4 separate regions of the Homo sapiens genome follow, and all the other regions are linked to region 4. Evidence: promoter capture Hi-C in 16 types of primary human blood cells and fetal thymus (Javierre and others, 2016). All regions are on one chromosome and are shown on one strand. The core of a region is centred on a gene start or on the middle of the fragment in contact, and the rest is flanking DNA. Distances in the headings are between cores, read along the strand shown. Region 1 has its middle 32 kb from the start of UBE2D4. Region 2 has its middle 92 kb from the start of RAMP3. Region 3 overlaps RAMP3 (receptor activity modifying protein 3). Region 4 holds the start of NPC1L1 (NPC1 like intracellular cholesterol transporter 1).

Region 1 (2,700 bases), core at 146-2,645, 580 kb after region 4:
ATGGTCTTCATGTGCTGTCTGCTTCTGGGTGGGGCCACAGGAGTCTAACTGGGGCCATCCAGTTATCAGAGATGCAAAAGCCTGAAAAGACATCTCAAAAGGCCAATCTTAGGTTCCACAATAGTGATGTTATTTACAGGAGTTATTGGGGGAAGTTGTAAATCTTGTGACCTTTGGAATAATGGCAGTAATCATTTAACTACAAATTCAGGCCCCTCTCATCCTTCTAACCTGGTGGCCTTTCATTAGTGTTACAGAGGCAGTTTAGGTTTGTGTGTTTTTTTTGTTTTTTGTTTTTTTGAGATGGAGTTTTGCTCTGGTTGCCCAGGCTGGAGTGCAATGGCACAATCTTGGCTCACTGCAGCCTCCGCCTTCTGGGTTCAAGTGATTCTCCTGCCTCAGCCTCCTGAGTAGCTGGGATTACAGGCATGCGCCACCACACCTGGCTAATTTTGTATTTTTAGTAGAGATGGGGTTTCTCTATGTTGATCAGCTGGTCTCGAACTCCTGAACTCGTGATCCGCCTGCCTCGACCTTCCAAAGTGCTGGGATTACAGGCGTGAGCCACCGCGCCCGGCACTAATTTTTTTTTTTTTTTTTTTTTTGAGACAGAGTCTCATTCTGTCACCCAGGCTGGAGTGCAGTGGCACAATTTTGGCTCTGCCCCCCCAGGTTCAAGCGATTCTCCTACCTCAGCCTCCCGAGTAGCTGGGATTACAGGCGCACGCCACCACACCCAGCTAATTTTTGTATCTTTTTCGTTTTTTTGTTTTTTGTTTTTTTTTTGAGCCAGAGTCTTGCTCTGTTGCCCAGGCTGGAGTGCAGCGGTGCAATCTTGGCTCACTGCAACCTCCGCCTCCCAGATTCAAGAGAGTCTCCTGCCTCAGCCTCCCGAGTAGCTAGGACTACAGGCACACACCACCACACCCAGCTAATTTTTTGTATTTTTAGTAGAGATGGGGTTTCAGTGTGTTGCCCAGGCTGGTGTCGAACACCTGAGCTCAGGTGATCCGCCCACCGTGGCCTCCCAAAGTGGTGGGATGACAGGTGTGAGCCACCATGCCTGGCCCGTTAATTTTTGTATTTTTAGTAGAGATGGGGGTGTTGCTATGTTGGCCAGGCTGGTCTTGAACTCATGACCTCAAGTGATCTGCCCTCCTTGGCCTCCTGAAGTGCTGGGATTACAGGTGTGAGCCACCTCACTCAGCCTCTTCTTAATTTCTTCACTGTCCCCTTGATCTTTCAGGATGGTGTTGTTTAATTTTCATGTATTTGTACAGTTTCCAGAGTTCCTTGTGTTACTTACTTCTAGTGCTTTTTGTTTTTTTAATTTAGAAAGAACAGAAATTTGTTTCTCACAGTTCTGGAGGCTGCAACATACTGCTTTTTATTCCATTGTGGTCTAATAAGATACTTGATAGGATTTTGATTCTTAAATATTTGTTGAGATTTATTTTGTGGCCTAACATATGGGCTATCCTGGAGAATGTTCCATGTGCTGATGAGAATATGTATTCTGCAGCTGTTGAATGAAATAGTCTGTAAATGTCTCTTAGATTCATTGGTCTATAGCGTATTTTAAGTCTCATGCCTCTATGTTGATTTTCTAGACCATAATCTGTCCAATGCTGAAAGTAGGTGCTGAAGTCCCCAACTTATTGTACTGGGGTCTATCTCTCTCTTTATCTCTAGTAATATTTATTTTATATATCTGGGTGCTCCAGTGTTGAGTGCATATATATTTACAATTGTTATATCCTCTAGCTGAATTGATCCCTTTATCATTATATAATGACCTTTTCTCTTTTTGTTTTTTGACTGACTTAAAGTCTATTTTGTCTGATATAAGTATAGCTAGTCCTGCATGCTTTTAGTTTACATTTGAGTGGAATATCTTTTTTCATCCCATCACTTAGTCTGTATGCATCTTTTTAGTGAGTTCCTTATAGGCAGCATATAGCTGGATCTTGTTTTTGTTAAATTCATTTTACAAAATTTATTTTAGAGACAAGGTCTTGTTTTGTCACACAGGTTGTAGTGCAGTGGCAATCATAACTCAGCTGCAGCCTTCAACTCCTGAACTCAAACAACCCTCATGTCTTAGCCTCCCGAGTAGCTGGGACTACAGGCACATGCCACGAGGCCCAGCTTTTTTTTTTTTTTTTTAGAGCTAGTGGTCTTGCTCTGTTGCCCAGGCTGGTATTGAACTCAAGCGACATCCTCCTGCCTCAGCTTCCCAAAGCATGGGGATTACAGTTGTGAGTCACCATGCCTCGCCTGGATCTTGTTTTTCTAACCCACTCAGCAAGGGTATTATGTGTGTGTATATATATATTTTTTTAATTGTATTTTTTTGGAGATAGAGTCTCACTCTGTCACCCAAGCTGGAGTGCAGTGGCATGATCTTGGCTCACTGCAACCTCCACCTCCCGGGTTCAAGTGATTCTCCTGCCTCAGCCTCCTGAGTAGCTGAGATTACAGGCATGTGGCACCATGCCCGGCTAAACAAGGCTATATATTTTAATTGGGAAGTTTGAACTCTTTACATTCAAGGTTGTTATTGATGAGTGAGGACTTATTCCTGTCATTTTGTTAATTGGTTTCTGATGTTTTATATGTCCTTTGTTACTTTCTTCCTCTTGAAAAATTTTTTTCCTTTCCTTTTTTTAATAAGAGACAGGGTCTCACTATGTTGCCTTG
Region 2 (2,700 bases), core at 8-2,507, 710 kb before region 4:
CATGCATTATCTTATTTAATAAGACCATATCATGTATTATTACGACAATAATAGTCATCATTTGTTAAGAGCTTACCTCTAACCACAATCATCAAGCAACCCTTCAATCCTGTGGACCTGATGATCCCCAGGCTCAGAAAATTGTGTCCCAAAGCAAAAAAGTAGGAAATGGCTCAGCTGAAATGTGAATGCATATTTCTAACTTCAAAGCTTTTTCTTCCACGACTCATTGAACTATCACATTAGCTTTCCTTCTCTTCTGAACAACTTTTTGATTTGAACTTCTTTTGAACAGCATTTATTATTCAAGTATTTTTCCAAATATGTTCTTATCTTTTCCTTTCCTTAATGATTTCTTTTGAAGCAAAAAAGTTAAGACGAAGTCCAATTTATAGTTTTTGTTCCTTTACAAACTGTGCTTTTGGTGTTATATCTAAGATATCTTTGCCTAACCCAAGGTCTCAAAGATTTTCTCTTAGGTTTTCTTCAAGATTTTTATTTTATTAACCCTTAAAGTCTATGATACATTTTGAGTTATTTTGGTATACAGTAATGAAAGAATCTAAGTTTATCTTGGCTGGCAACTTCAATAATGTTTCATAATTTTCAGTATACAATTTTTGTACTTCTTTTGATAAATTTATTCTTACTTATGTTATTCTTTTTGATGCTATTGTAAGAGGTATTGTATTCTTACTTTCATTTTCAGGTTATTTGTAAATAAAAATACAATTGGTTTTTTTTTTTTTCTTTTGAGATGGAGTCTCACTCTGTCACCAGGCTGGAGTGCGGTGGTGCCATTTTGGCTCACTGCAACCTCCACCTCCTGGGTTCAGGCAAAATACAATTGATTTTTATAAACTGATCTTGTATAGTACATCCTTGTTATACTTGATCATTAGTTCTAACAGCCTGTATGTGTGTATATTTGTGTGTGTGTATATTCTTTAGGATTTTCTACATGCAAGATTATGTCTTCTGCAAACACAGTCAGTTTTACTTCTTGCTTTCAAATGTAGATACCTTTCATTTCTTTTCTTTTTTTTTTTGCCTGATTGATCTGGCTAGAACCTCCAGCAAGTTTTGAAAAGAAGTGGCAAGTGTACACATCTTCGCCTGCTATGAGTTTAGGTTTTTTTGTAGATGACTTCTATCAGGCTGAGGAAATTCCCTTCTTTTCCAAGTTTATGGAGAGTATTTTGTCATGAATGGACGTTGGATTTTGTCAAATACTTTTTCTGCATCTATTGAAGTGACCATGTGGCATTTGTCCTTTCTTCTATTAATATTAGTTGATTTTTTGAATGTTAAATCGACTTTGTAGTCCTAGGATAAATCCCTCTTGGTCATAGTGTCTAACCATTTTTAGATTTTGCTGGATTTAGTTTGCTAGTATTTCGTTGATAATTTTTGCATCTATATTCGTAAGAGATGTGGGTTTGTAGTTTCGTTTTTTTGTTGTTGTTGTTGTGGTATGTTTGACTGACTTTTGTATCAGGGCCTCATACAGTCAGTTGGGAACTGTTACTCTTTTTTCTATTTTCTAGACTAGTTTGTGAAGAATTGTTGTCAATTCTTCTTTAAGTGTTTAGTAGAACTTACCAATGAAGCCATATGGGCCTGGGCTTTTTCTGTGAGAAGTTTATAAATTACTAATTTAAGTTACTAATTAAATATTTTTACTTCTCATAGTTCTATTCAGATTTTTAATTTCTCCTTGAGTCAGTTTTAGTAATATGTGTCTGTCTAGTAATTCATCCATTTCATCTATGTTGTTGAATTTATTGGCATAAAGTTATTTTTAGTATTCCCTTTTAATCCTCTACTTTCTGAAAGATCAATAGTAATACCACTTTTTCATTATTAATTTTGATGATCTGTGTCTCCTCTTCCTCTTTTTCAATAATAAAAAGGTTAGCCAATTTTGTTGATCTTCTCAAAAAACCAACTTTTGGATTTACTGATTTTCTCCATATTTTTTCTATGTCTATGTCATTGGTTTCAGTTCTAATCTTAATTATTTAGTTTTCTCTTATTTTTAGGATTCTTGAATAAAATCCTAGGTTGTTGATTTGGGATTTTTATTCTTTTCTAATATTTCTTAAATTTTCCTTTGTTATCTTTACTAAATATTTAAGTCATTTTCTTGGCACTAGCTTTGAGGATTACATTACATATTTTAACTTAATCTTAACTTTATTGCAATAGTATAGAGAAACTTGACTTCAGTATAGTATCTTCTCTCCCCACTCCTTTGTGCTATAATTGTCATATAAATTACAACTTTATACACTAAAAGCTTATAACACCATTTTGCAATTGTTTTTTTCAGTTGTCATTTAAAATCAGTTAGGGGAAGAAAAGAGTTTAAAAATATATCTTTATACTATCTTTTGTCTTTTATCTTTTACCTGTACAATAACCTTTGCTGGTTTATTTCTTCATGTGGATCTGAGTTGCTAGTCTAGTGTCCTCTCTTTTCAATCTGAAAGACTCTCATTATATTTCTTATAAGTCATGTCCCCAACAATGAATTATCTCAGTCTTTGTTTATCTGAAAATGTCTTTATTTCTCCTTCACTTTTCAAAAATAATTTGATTGGATATAGAATTTTGAGTTGACAGTCTTTCTTTCAACACTTTCAACATTTTGAATATGTCATTTCACTGTCCTCTGACTCTCATGGTTTCTGATGAGAA
Region 3 (2,700 bases), core at 43-2,542, 620 kb before region 4:
TTCCCACCCTTGGTCTGCCAAGCAGGGCTGCATCCAAGGCTCACCTCCTTGCCCTGAGGGCTCCTGGCTGGAGTGGCCCCACTTAGCCCTGGTCCCCGATCCCCACCTTCCTTTCCTTCTCTCCCAGTGGGCACTTCCAAGCTCCATGTCAAGCCTGGGCTCTGCAACAGATTCTGGAGTACAGGTCGGCATTGATCCTGGGAAGGGCCTGAAAAACATCATGCCTCCTTCACCACCTCCCTCAGTTTAGAGATGGGACGATGGAGGCCCAAAAGAAAGCGACTTTCCCAAGGCCTCCCTCTGCCACCCTGCTCAACTGCACCTGCCTGCAGGTGAAAAGACAGCCCTGGCATAAGTGACCAAGGGGTGCAAGCCCCAGGGACCACGTGGAGTCACACGAGGACTAAGGCGGCCTGTGCACCTTCACCCTAAAGCTGCCCCTGCCTTGGACTCTGAAGGTTCGCCTAGCTGCTCTCCACATCCAGCTCCTGTCCTCACCCCTGGGTCTGGCGTCACTCCCTAACAGATTCTCTCAGCACCCTTGGGTGGGTCTCCTGAGCTCCGCCCACCATCCCAATGGGCACGAGCCAGGCTAGCCCCACCCTGTCCCTCCTGGCCAGTGCCCACACCTGCAGCCTGGTCCACCTGGACCCCTAGGTCTGAATCTGAACCCCTAGACCTGGACCACTTGGCCTGGTCCCCCCTCAGCCTACTCTGACTGTCACCTATCAGGCCACCGAGACCCAGCCCAGTTCTTCTTCCTCCTCTGCCTCCCCCTCCTTCCCCTTCTTCCTCTCTTCCTCCTTCCCCTGTCCTTCTTTACCCTCCTCCCCCTCCCCTGTTTCCTCTCCTCTCCTTCCTTCCTCCTCTTCTTGGAAGTCAGAATGAATCTGAACCACTGCCTTCTCCTCCCCAGCCCTTTCCTGGAGGTATTTGCCGCAGCCAGCCCAAGTCATGGCTGTTCCTACAGCCCACCTCCCTACACAGGGCCTGTGTCTGCCACATTTTCACATTAACTATGATGCTCTGAAACACAGCTCAGGGACAAGGTCCTGATAAGTATTCATTACCCTCAGGCAACTATTATTCTCCCTGAGCCCCTGATCTCCCTCACTGAGCCAGGCAAAGACAGCATCAATTCCCCACCACCCCCAGTGCCAGGGCATTGCCCAGCCCCTCCCCCACGGCTCTACAAATACCCACCCAGGTCGCACAGCTATCTAAAAAGAGAAGGAGGGGTCCCTGACAACATGCCCCTCCCTGAATCTCTGCATGCCCCAAATCTCTACATACTCCATAATCTTCACATGCCCCATCGCAAGGACCTGGCTCAGGCAGATTGTAAATGTGCCTTTGAGGACCACATGCCATCCTCAGGCAGGTGTTCTGGGATAACTCCTCTACCCACGGAGGTGCTATGAGGATGCCTGTGACAGCACCAGCCCTGGGCCTGCACAAGGCAGGCACCCTGAGAAACCAAGTGCCCTCCCCAGGGAGCTCATTTCTAGTGCACATGAGGCTTGAGGGGCTCCCAGCAAAACCTGACAACCCACCCAATGTTAGAACAATGGTGTAAAGACAGATTCCTGGCAACACCACAAAAGAGGGCCATTGCCAATCAAGCTACTGGCTGCATTAGTAAAGGTCGCAGGAACTGAATCAAAATAGAAATCCATTTTGGTTGGTTTCATTGGGAAACAAAGAACATGCCGGCCTGTGTTTCTTTTGTCTCAGGGACTTCCAGACGCCACTGAGAGATGATAAACAGCCAAACAGATGCATTTCCGCCAGAAAGGGCTTTTGTGGCTAGTCATTTGGAAATGAAACACAGGCGCTCTCCCCCTCCTTGACAGAAAGAGCATCGACGAGACTGGCAAGTGGCTGCCATGGGCCACGGTCAGTCGACCTTGGGAGGCTGTGGATTCTGGGCGGTTCTGCCCCTGGTCTCTGTGGTTGGGCAACTTCCTCTCTAACCTCCAGATTTCTGTTTCCTTATGAAGAATAGGTAAGAGCATGGAGGTCAGATAACCTCCAAGGAACCTCCAGTGCCAAAAATCTATGGGCCTCTTCTTGGCCAATCACCACCTTCAAGTCTTTTTTTTTTTTTTTTTTTTTTTTTTTTTTTTTTTTTTTTTGAGGCAGAGTCTCGCTTTGTCACCAGGCTGGAGTGCAATAGCATGATCTCGGCTCACTGCAATCTCCGCCTTCCAGGTTCAAGCGATTCCTCTGCCTCAGCCTCCTGAGTAGCTGAGACTACAGGTATGCACCACCACACCCGGCTAATATTTTGTATTTTTAGTAGAGACGGAGTTTCACCATGTTGGCCAGGATGGTCTCGATCTCCTGACCTCGAGATCTGCCCGCCTTGGCCTCCCAAAGTGCTGGGATTACAGGCGTGAGCCACCGCACCCGGCCGGCCACCTCCAAGTCTTTAATTCACCAGAGTTACTGCTATCCAACCATGGCCCTTGGGCCCACTTGATTCAGTAGAATCAATATGACCACAGGTAACATGGCAGCAGGACATCATTTAATGATAAAAACGATGGTACCATGTTCATACGCTTGCACACACAGGCACACACACTATGGTGCTCCATCTTTGGGTGCTGTGAGTGAGCCTCATGAGGCCCAGTGCAGTCACTGGTGGGTGCCTTCCCATACCTCCCCTTGTTTAAGCATGAACCCTTCCACCCCACA
Region 4 (2,700 bases), core at 116-2,615:
TGCATTCTGGTCAGCTTTCTTCCATCCCCTGGCTCATTCCCCATTCACCGACTGCTGTCATCTGGGGTCATCTCCCCAATAAACTCTTTGCACTGGGATCCTTGTTTCAGGATCTGTTTCTGGAGGAACTAGATGACAACACCGGGAACAGAGGACCTAGAGAGGCAGCTTCATGGGTGGTGGGGTGTCCGCCTCTGCCGGCCAGGGACTTGGGAGCAGTGCTGGGAAGGTGCTGGATGGAGCTGTCACTCACAGGGGCAGGTCCTTGGCTGCTGACTGTCTTCCTCTCCACTATGGCTGTCTTGAGAACTTAGGGGTCAGCCTGACCCTGCCTTGGCCCCCTTCCTCTCAGCCTCTGTCTTCTCCTGCATGAGGCTGGGTGGCTCCCCTGTGAATCAGGCAGGGGTCCACAGAACACTAGAGACAGGTCCCTTCCTGCAGCTGTCTCCAGTAGGTGGCCACGCAGGAGATGTTCCCAACAAGCTGCCCTTATCTGCAGCTCAGCTTTGGTAATGGGGGCCCATTACCAAATGGGGGTAAAGGTCATGGCCCATCCTGGTGATAGTGAGAACCCAAGGTAGGCCTTGAAGATTCCTATCAGGAGGGAGCAGAAAGTGTGTACCACACCCCTGGGCCCAGGTGGAGCAGGGCTGCTGCTCAAGGCTCCCAGCCATGCTCTGTCCCTTGCTAGGGGTGACCGGTGGGACAGGCCTGGGCAAGGGACAAGAGGGAGAAGGTCGGGGGGAAGAGGGGATGAAGAGCAAAGTGAGCAAAGGAGAGTCTTCCACTATCTGGGGTCTCTGTCAACTGTCAGGCCCTAGAGTGAGCTGTTCTTTCCCTTTGCTTCCTGGAGGAGGGGACTTTTGTCACTGCGTCACTCCACCCTGCCTGCCCCTCCGTTATCAGGCTGTTAATATTAATTAACAACAGTTGCTAGGGATGACAGTGCAGAGGGTTCCTCTGAGCCCATTGCTGGCCCTGGTCCCAAGAGGGGGTAGGGCAGAGCTGGGGTCTGAGGCTGAGCCAGGGAGGGTGCGGAGGTTCCTCGGCCATGCTGAGCTCCTGAGGCCGGGTCCCAGCCAGTGCCTGGTCCCATCTGTGCCTCCAGGCCCTGGCACCAACTCCAGCAGTGTTAGGGGCTAATAGCGTGGTCTCTCCCCTAGCTGACTCAGCCCTCTGGCTTCGGTCGCTTTGGGAAGTGAGTGGAGACCCTAGCACCTGCGTGATGAGGCTCATCTAAAGCGGGGGCCTGTGGACTGGGGCCAAACAGTGGGAGTGGTGGATCATTAACCAGCAGGGCTCAGCCTCATTGGTCCCTAACCCAGTCAGGCCAGGGTTGTCATCGAAGGGGAGGAGGCTGCCTTAATGTGTGTTCAGCCCTTGGCTGTTCCTGAGGCCTGGCCTGGCTCCCCGCTGACCCCTTCCCAGACCTGGGATGGCGGAGGCCGGCCTGAGGGGCTGGCTGCTGTGGGCCCTGCTCCTGCGCTTGGTGAGTCCCAGGGCTTGGCTCCACCTCCCCTGCGGCCTCCAGTTAGGGACCCTGGGGCCAGCCGTGTACCAGGCGAGCGTTACTGGGTGACAGCAAGGGAGCCTCAGGGCCTGCGGGCTGGGCAAGTCTCTGGACACATGAGGGATGCCAGGCCCCACAGAGGAGGGGTGCAGGTGGAGGGTTTCCAGGTTACAGGCTTGAATGCACACAGGGGTGAAAGAGGCTGCTGGACTGGGGTGCTCCAAGTCCCTCCTGTCACTGGCCCTACTGTGGGGTCCAGGCCTGCAGTTGAGGGAGGTCTGAGGCAAGGAGGTGCTGGGATGGGGTTACCTGGTGAGCATCACCTAGGGAGGACTGAGCACTCTGGAGGCTGGGAGAAGATCCAGCGCTGGCACCTCTTAAGTTCCTCGCTTACTTTGTGTCTGGGAGGTGGGTGACAGCTTTTGGCCTCAAGCAGGTGGTGGTAGTGGTGGTGGGAGTCGGGGGGCCTCCTGAACAGACTCTCCATGAGAGACCCTGGCCTCTGGATGTGGTGTACAGTGTGGGGACTCAGGCTGACTTTGACGTGGGCAGAGCCCGGGACCTTGGAGTCAGCTTTGCCTCCTTACCCATCTCTGGCCTCTCCAGCATGACTTTCCTAAGCTGCAGGTCTATCAGGCCACCCCCAGGAAGAAAGGCCAGTGTTGTCACTCCAACACTGGCTGGCTGGCACATGCCTCCAGGAGGCTTCCTACTCCCCACACTCCCCGCTTCCCTGCCCCTGCTCCATGTCCTTCTTACCCTCACACCCTCCCTGGCTGCCTGCTGCCTGGATGGCACCCAGCTGTGTCAGGGCCCACGCGTGATGTTGCTGTGCTCTGCAGGCCCAGAGTGAGCCTTACACAACCATCCACCAGCCTGGCTACTGCGCCTTCTATGACGAATGTGGGAAGAACCCAGAGCTGTCTGGAAGCCTCATGACACTCTCCAACGTGTCCTGCCTGTCCAACACGCCGGCCCGCAAGATCACAGGTGATCACCTGATCCTATTACAGAAGATCTGCCCCCGCCTCTACACCGGCCCCAACACCCAAGCCTGCTGCTCCGCCAAGCAGCTGGTATCACTGGAAGCGAGTCTGTCGATCACCAAGGCCCTCCTCACCCGCTGCCCAGCCTGCTCTGACAATTTTGTGAACCTGCACTGCCACAACACGTGCAGCCCCAATCAGAGC

Evidence for each region. Contacts are between HindIII fragments. The CHiCAGO score rates a contact against its expected background, and 5 or more counts as called.
Region 1: a fragment that was not itself captured here is called in contact with the fragment with the promoter of NPC1L1 in region 4 in 1 of 17 cell types (naive B cells); the score reaches 5.2 in naive B cells.
Region 2: a contact is called between a fragment that was not itself captured here and the fragment with the promoter of NPC1L1 in region 4, in 1 of 17 cell types (monocytes). The highest score is 5.4, in monocytes.
Region 3: a contact is called between a fragment that was not itself captured here and the fragment with the promoter of NPC1L1 in region 4, in 1 of 17 cell types (naive CD8 T cells). The highest score is 5.7, in naive CD8 T cells.

The regions. Positions count from the first base shown.
Region 1 is chr7:43,956,696-43,959,395 of GRCh38, reverse strand. It overlaps the pseudogene POLR2J4. Among named protein-coding and RNA genes, the nearest start is that of UBE2D4, 32 kb to the right of the region's middle. The HindIII fragment of the contact is 6,737 bases long and covers 1-2,700 here.
Region 2 is chr7:45,248,083-45,250,782 of GRCh38, reverse strand. No RefSeq gene overlaps it. Among named protein-coding and RNA genes, the nearest start is that of RAMP3, 92 kb to the right of the region's middle. The HindIII fragment of the contact is 2,089 bases long and covers 213-2,301 here.
Region 3 is chr7:45,159,766-45,162,465 of GRCh38, reverse strand. All of the region lies in intron 1 of RAMP3 (receptor activity modifying protein 3), which reads right to left. Among named protein-coding and RNA genes, the nearest start is that of RAMP3, 3.3 kb to the right of the region's middle. The HindIII fragment of the contact is 5,307 bases long and covers 1-2,700 here.
Region 4 is chr7:44,539,995-44,542,694 of GRCh38, reverse strand. It overlaps NPC1L1 (NPC1 like intracellular cholesterol transporter 1), which reads left to right and starts at 1,365. Exons shown (of 19, transcript NM_001101648.2): 1 at 1,365-1,489; 2 at 2,353-2,700. The coding sequence starts at 1,436. RefSeq lists an enhancer at 2,072-2,693. The HindIII fragment of the contact is 6,836 bases long and covers 1-2,700 here.